2 separate regions of the Homo sapiens genome follow, and region 1 is linked to region 2. Evidence: promoter capture Hi-C in human tissues and cell types (Jung and others, 2019). All regions are on one chromosome and are shown on one strand. Each heading gives the region's core, a stretch centred on a gene start or on the middle of the fragment in contact. The rest is flanking DNA. Distances are from core to core; before and after follow the strand shown.

Region 1 (3,465 bases), core at 46-2,545, 38 kb after region 2:
CAGGAAGGAAGATGCTGCTATGCTTCCTGTAGGAACATGAGCCAATTCTTTTCTTGTAAATTAACCAGTCTCAGGTATTTCTTTATAGCAATGCAAGAATGGCCTAATACGTGGGCCATCTGGGCATTCCATAGAACATTACATCAATGACATCATGCTAAATAAGCAAAATGAATGTAAGGTAGCTAGCACACCGGAAGCCTTGCTATGTGTCCCAGGTGAGAGAGAAACTCTACATAGATTTGGGGATCTGCAATTCCTTTTTTTTTTTTTTTATTTTAAGATGGAGTTTTGCTCTTGTCGCCCAGGCTGGAGTGCAATGGTACGATCTCGGCTCACTGCAACCTCCGCCTCCTGGGTTCAAGCAATTCTCCTGCCTCAGCCTCCCAAGTAGCTGGGACTACAGGTGCGCGCCACCACGCCTGGCTAATTTTTGTATTTTTAGTAGAGACAGGGTTTCACCATCTTGGCCAGGCTGGTCTCAAACTCCTGACCTCATGATCCACCCGCCTCGGCCTCCCAAAGTGCTGGGATTACAGGCTTTGTAATCCCAGAGCCACCGGGTGAGCCAATGCTCCCGGCCAGGATCTGCCATTCCTTTAAGGGTTCTAGGAGACCAGGGGACATGGGCATGCTGGAATACTCTACAAAGTAAAAAGACACACTACATTTTGCATCACCTGCTACAAGGAAGCAAGCACTGTAACTCTGGGGTTCTCTAGATTCAGAAAGCAAGACATTCCACCTAGAAACACTACTCCAACCCATATAGTAAATGACATGAAAAAAATGTTAGGCTTGAGTAGGGCCTTGGAGCAAGAAAGGGCTGTTGAAAATTAAGATTCAGGCTATGATGCAAGCAGCCCTACAAACTGGACCACATGATCTGATAAACTTTATAGTATAAGAGGGTATCAGTGGCAGGAAAAGATGCAATGTGATGTGGAGTTTATATCAGAAGCTCATGGAACTGTGGAGGGGCTACCCAAAGGTGTAAAGTGGATCTGTGCAGTGTTAAGGAGTGGAATTGTGCCACTCAGTTCTCAAGAAAACTGGATGCAAGTAACAAATCTGACAGCCACCAGCTGCTAGTCCTCCTGATCTGTTACAGCACTCACATGAAAACCATGTGTTCTCCCCAGGCTGCTCTGGACTAGTAGTCAGGCCATCTCTGCCCAATCTGGGACTGCTCTTAATAGGTAATCTGCTCTGAGATTCCTCATCAGGCTGGGAGACTCTCAGAGCAGCTGAGGTTTGAGTTCTCTTCTCTCTCTTCTGTCACATGCACATTGCATTCTGAAGGCCTTCCCTGCCTACTGATCCCTCTCCCTTGTATCCCTCACAGGCATTTCCCTCAGTACAGCTCTAGTGTATCTGACTCCACCTTGGTGTCTGCCTTTTGGAGGATCCAAGGTGACACTACCATGCATGCTTTAACAATAAACTTGTTAAATGATGATAATCAAAGTGTTTTTTTTTGAGACAGGGTCTTACTCTGTTACCCAGGCTGCAGTGCAATGGCATGATCATGGCTCACTGCAGCCTCGATCTCCTGGGCTCAGGTGATCCTGCCACCTCAGCCTCCTGAGTAGCTGGGACAAGTGTGCACCACCACGCTGGGCTCATTTTTTTGTAGACACCGGATTTTACCATGTTGCCCAGGCTGGTCTTGAACTCCTGGGCTCAAGTGAGCCGCCCACCTCAACCTACCAGTGTTGGCATCACAGGCGTGAGGCACCATGCCCAGCTAAGGCTTTTCAAGCGATTCTCCTGCCTCAGCCTCCTGAGTAGCTGAGATTATGCGCCACCATGCCTGGCTGATTTTTATATATATAATTTTTAGTAGAGATAGATAGGGTTTCACCATGTTGGTCAGGCTGGTCTCGAACTCTTTGACCTCAAGCAATCTGCTCACCTGGGCCTCCCAAAGTGCTGGATTACAGGCGTAGGCCACCATGCCCAGCATCATGCTTTTTTTTTTTTTTTTTTTGGTGACGGAGTCTCACTCTGTCGCCCAGGCTGGAGTGCAGTGGTGTGTTCTTGGCTCACTGCAACCTCTGCCTCCCGGGCTCAAGGGATTCTGCCTCAGCTTCCCAAGTAGCTGGAATTACAGGTGCCCGCTACCATGCCCCACTAATTTTTTGTATTCTTAGTAGAGACAGGGTTTCCAGGCCAGGCTGGTCTTGAACTCCTGACCTCAAATGATCTGCCCGCCTCAGCCTCCCAAAGTGTTGGGATTGCAGGCATGAGCTACCGTGTCCGGCCATTAAATTTTAATAAGATAGTTGCCATTGCGTTGCAATTGTCTACAGTATTCACATGCTCTACAGGATAGTAGCTTACAAGCAGTAAGCTATACCACATAGCCCAGGTGTATAGTAGGCTGTACCATATAGGTGTAAGTACACTCTATGATGTTCAGGGTGAAATTTTTAAAAAGTTTGCATTTCTTCAGAGATTAAAAAGTACAGCAACAACTATTCAGCATGGACAGATAAAAGTGTGATTAAAAAGGACAGGGGAAAATCCATTGAATAGTGCTCACCTATGTGCCAAAAGAGGAGTAATCATTTTAGAAGGTATCATAGAAATCAGTCTGTTAAGAACCAAAGGACTCAAGAGCAAAAGGCGAAGAGTAGAAAAAAAGGGAATGACATGTGGAGCTAGAAATCAAGTCTAGATATCTGGACCAAAGTGAACTGATATAAAGAACAAGTCACACGGCATGCTATGTTATTTCCAGCGCATAGTGTCTTTATTTAGAAAACAGACGGAATCAAACAGGTTGGAGTTATTGCTTTCTTGTTCTGTATATTCATATTCTCCACTTGAAAAAGCACACAGTCAAATCTATCTTCATCCATTCTGTTGATGAGGGTAAGCAAAAAAGATCACTGGTTACTTCAAAAGAACCTAGGGGGGAAAAACACAACTTATTTAAATCATAGATTTTAAAAGTCTCTATAACCAGGATAAGAAAAAATACAAATAAAGACAGAAAATCAACTAACATGACAATAAAACATTCTAAATTGATTAGACTACCAAAAACCACAGTTTTGTGTTATTATCACTTTGTCTTGGTGAGCTCAGTTAACAAAGATATACTCTGATTCTGACTTAGAAGACATTTAATGTTCTTATCATTAAAAAATAAAAGCTAAATCTATTACTGTTTTACAAGAGCAACCTTATTTCCCAAATTTATTTGACTCTCCTTCAGGAAAAACTATTCTAACTCCCTGGAAATTGTTCTCTCTAGTGAGTGAACAGTCGCAAGTTCAATTTATAGGTCCATAATATTTTCTACTTAATTAAGATGCTGACACCAAAACAGCCAAAATGTGCTTCCTTTTCTAATCTGCAAGTTTTGTGACTTATTTTAGACAGCTTATGTTAAATATATATATGTGTGTGTGTATAAAACCACAAAGATGTCTCCGTACTATTACTCCTTAGCAATCC
Region 2 (3,486 bases), core at 611-3,110:
AATGATAAATGCTTGAGGTGATGGATACACATGTACCCTGATGTAATGATTACACATTGTGTGTGTGTATAAAAATATCTCATCTACCCCATAAATATATATACACCAGCTATGTACCCACAAAAATTTTAAATAAAAAAATAAAAAAAACCCAAACATAGTTTCTTTTCAGGGTGCCTGACTTTGAAATCTCAGAATGAAGTGCCCCTGTAAGGACGAATGAACAAATACAAAAAAAAAAAAAAAAAAAAAAAAAAACCCCAGTAGCTCAAGCCAAATGCCCTCAGTGCTTTCTTAGCCATTTACAAGCAGTTTGTTGTAAGGCCCAGCAACCCAGTTATACTTGCCAAATTCTATTCCAGAAGAAATGTGTACTTTTGTTTTAGATACACAAACTCAGTAGCAACCCCCACCTACTTCTCTTGCTTGTGTAGCGCAGCATGTATTCAACACTTGCACTACTTAATCCCCCCAGATTTTCCTCTCCTCTGCACTCCTTTTTTTCCAAAGCCTACTGTCAAACCACAAATCCCCTCTTTACCCCTGTGCACAGCGGTTTCCCCAGGTTTTAGTCGAACCCCAAATATGTGACTCTTACCTTGCTGCCCTGGGGTGTAGAGAGGTTTGTCAGTCTGTACAAAGGTGCCGTTCCCCTGCCTCTGAATTAGAACCTTTTTCTTCTCCTCAAAGCTGATGTTATTTCCAACTCCCGACACCCGGATTGTGGCCACTTCTTCTGTGCCACCAGCAGGAGGTGGTACCTGACCAAGAAAGGGGACTTCTGGGGAGGGGTAAGGGATTGGGGGAACAGAATCAACTGGTCTCAACCCAACAGTGAGTTAAAGGAAAGAGCTGAGTTAGATGGGGGTAGCAAGGATAGAGACATAAAACAAATTACCACGAGGAAGAATTAAGGTCAGGAACTAAAGGGAGAAATCCTAGGTCGAGGAAACCGTGGGTGAGTTATAGCCGGGGATTGAGGTTAAGTTGAGAAAAAATAGGTTTAGAGGCCGTGGCAAAAGATAACAGAAATTATACTTAAAGTAGATTATAGTGAGCCTAGGGAGGAGAATAGGCAAGTAAGGGATTCGAGTGAGGGCTGAGTCTGTGCTTACAAGAAAGGAGATACAATGTAAGTGCCTCTTCTTCAGTCCAGAGTATTCTAGCAACTTCTGGGTCTTGTCCTTGGTCTCCAGAGTAACCGTGAATTTAACATCACTGTACCCAGGGCTCAGGTCCAAACAAACCTTCTGAACGGAGGGGAAATTTAGCCGGGCTGGTAATGTCACCAGGTAGTTTCTATTAAAGGAGCAGAAGGATTTCAGGGCAATAATGATTCATTCACTCGAAAAATCCAGCACTCTCCTAAGCGCTCAGCAAGTAGCAGTGAATTAGACAGACCAAGCCCCTGCCTTCCTTATGCACCTCATTTTCTACAAGAAGCAGAGGGGCAACGACTCAGTGCACAGTCTTCAACTTCCGCCATCAGGAGGCCCTCACCGAGCACACATGCCTAGAGCACCAAGGAGGAAATTAGGCCTATTTCAGAAAACAGGGCACATTTTAATATTTATCTTTTTTAAAGCTTCCTCTTCATGCGTCAGCCTCCCTCTCTGGGTAAAGGATCAGTGGAACCAAAGAAGAGAAAAAAGGAGGAGGAAATTAAGATAAACCAAAGTTGATCTCCCCATCTCCATATAAATGTTTGAGAAAGTTAGGCGAAGAAGCCGCTGCCCTAATAAACCAATTCTGACACCAAGCACTCACGGAAGTTCTTCTGCAATGGCTGGTGATAGGGCCAACATTCCTAGAAGGAGCTGAGCCCACATCTTTGTGGGTGAGACAGATTTTTCCAGGGTCAGGGGCAGAGATCGCTCCGCGTAGCTTTATATACTAATTCCAGGTAGGGTGTGCAGTGATGACTGATGCTATAGTCAGTCACCTCCTGGCACCTGGAACACAGGAGGACTGTGTTCCTCCTTCTGTAACCACCAGGTTAGGTGGTGGACCAGGGTAGGGCCACTATTCACTTCTTTAAAGTTGTTTCTGCCTGGAACATCCATACTGGTTCAGCCAGTTTTGGGGGAAAACCAGAGCTGAGTATTCATAATGGTAAAGCTCTCAGAACATATTTTGAACTCCTCCCTTTTTTTCTGGTCTCATTCCAATTCCTGTTCTCATTTAATGTCCTTATTTTCTTTTATTATTCAATTAAGGTGTAGTTGGGAACACGGGTATGAGAACAGTTTCAATAGAAAAGCAGTAAACTTGGCCGGTCACAGTGGCTCACGCCTGTAATCCCAGCACTTTGGGGGGTTGAGGTGGGCAGATCACCAGGTCAGGAGTTCAAGACCAGCCTGGCCAACATAGTGAAACCCTGTCTCTACTAAAAATACAAAGAAAAAAAAATCAGCTGGGCATAGTGGTGGGTGCCTATAGTCCCAGCTACTTGGGAGGCTGAGGCAGGAGAATCGCTTGAACCCGGGAGGTGGAGGTTGCAGTGAGCCGAGATCATGCCACTTTACTCCAGCGTGGGTGACACAACGAGACTCTGTCTCAAAAAAAAAAAAAATTAATACTACTCAGTATTGTTGTGACTGTATGGAAATAGGGACACACACAGTCCTAGAGAAAATAGAATGTGGATAACTTTCTCATGGCAATTTTGTAATACACACCAAAGCCTTTGAGATTTGCATATTCTTTCACTCAGCAACTCCTACTCTGGAAATGTTTCTTAATGAGGAAAAAAAGGACAGCATGCATGTATGCACAAGTGTAACACTGAGTTTTTTCACACTGTTCTTTCTTTTTTTTCTTTTCTTTATTTTTTATTTTTTTGAAGTAGAGTCTCACTTTATCACCCAGGCTGGAGTGCAGTGGCACAATCTCAGCCCACTGCAGCTTTGACCTCCTGGGCTCAAGCGATCCTCCCACCTCCACCTCCTGAGTAGCTGGGACCACAGGTAGGCACCAACACTCCTGGCTAATTGTTTTGTATTTTTAATAGAGACAGGGTTTCACCATGTTGCCCAGGCTAGTCTCGAACTCCTGAGCTCCAGGGACCACCTCAGCCTCCCAAAGTGCTGGGATTACAGGTATGAGCCACCGTGCCCAGCCCACAGTGTTCTTTATGATGGTAATACTTAGAAGTCACCTAAAATATAAATTAGTCTAAGTGCAGTGGCTCATGCCTATAATCCCAGCTTTTGGGAGTCAGAAGCTGGAGGATTGCTTGAGCCCAAGAGTTTGAGACCAGCCTGGGCAACATAGTGAGACCCCGTTTTGTAACCACCCAATGGATTCACCTTGCTTGCTGCCTAGACAGAGCCGATTTATCAAGACAGGGGAACTGCAATGGCAAAAGAGTAATTCACGCAGAGCCGGCTGTGTGGGAGACTGGAGTTTTATTATTACTTAAATCCTTGAGCCTTCGTGGATCAGAGTTTTTAAAGATAATTTGGCAGGTAGGGGCTTGGGAAGTGG

What was found. Contacts are between HindIII fragments. The study calls those that stand out against the background at their distance.
Region 1: a contact is called between a fragment that was not itself captured here and the fragment with the promoter of A2ML1 in region 2, in 3 of the 25 tissues and cell types used here (H1 embryonic stem cells, mesendoderm cells and thymus).

Annotation. Positions count from the first base shown.
Region 1 is chr12:8,782,360-8,785,824 of GRCh38, reverse strand. All of the region lies in intron 1 of A2ML1-AS1 (A2ML1 antisense RNA 1), which reads left to right. It also overlaps a transcript of RIMKLB not described here. Among named protein-coding and RNA genes, the nearest start is that of LINC02972, 4.2 kb to the left of the region's middle. The HindIII fragment of the contact is 5,071 bases long and covers 1-3,465 here.
Region 2 is chr12:8,820,995-8,824,480 of GRCh38, reverse strand. It overlaps A2ML1 (alpha-2-macroglobulin like 1), which reads right to left and starts at 1,860. Exons shown (of 36, transcript NM_144670.6): 1 at 1,768-1,860; 2 at 1,116-1,299; 3 at 599-761. The coding sequence starts at 1,829. All of the region lies in intron 1 of A2ML1-AS1 (A2ML1 antisense RNA 1), which reads left to right. The HindIII fragment of the contact is 7,738 bases long and covers 242-3,486 here.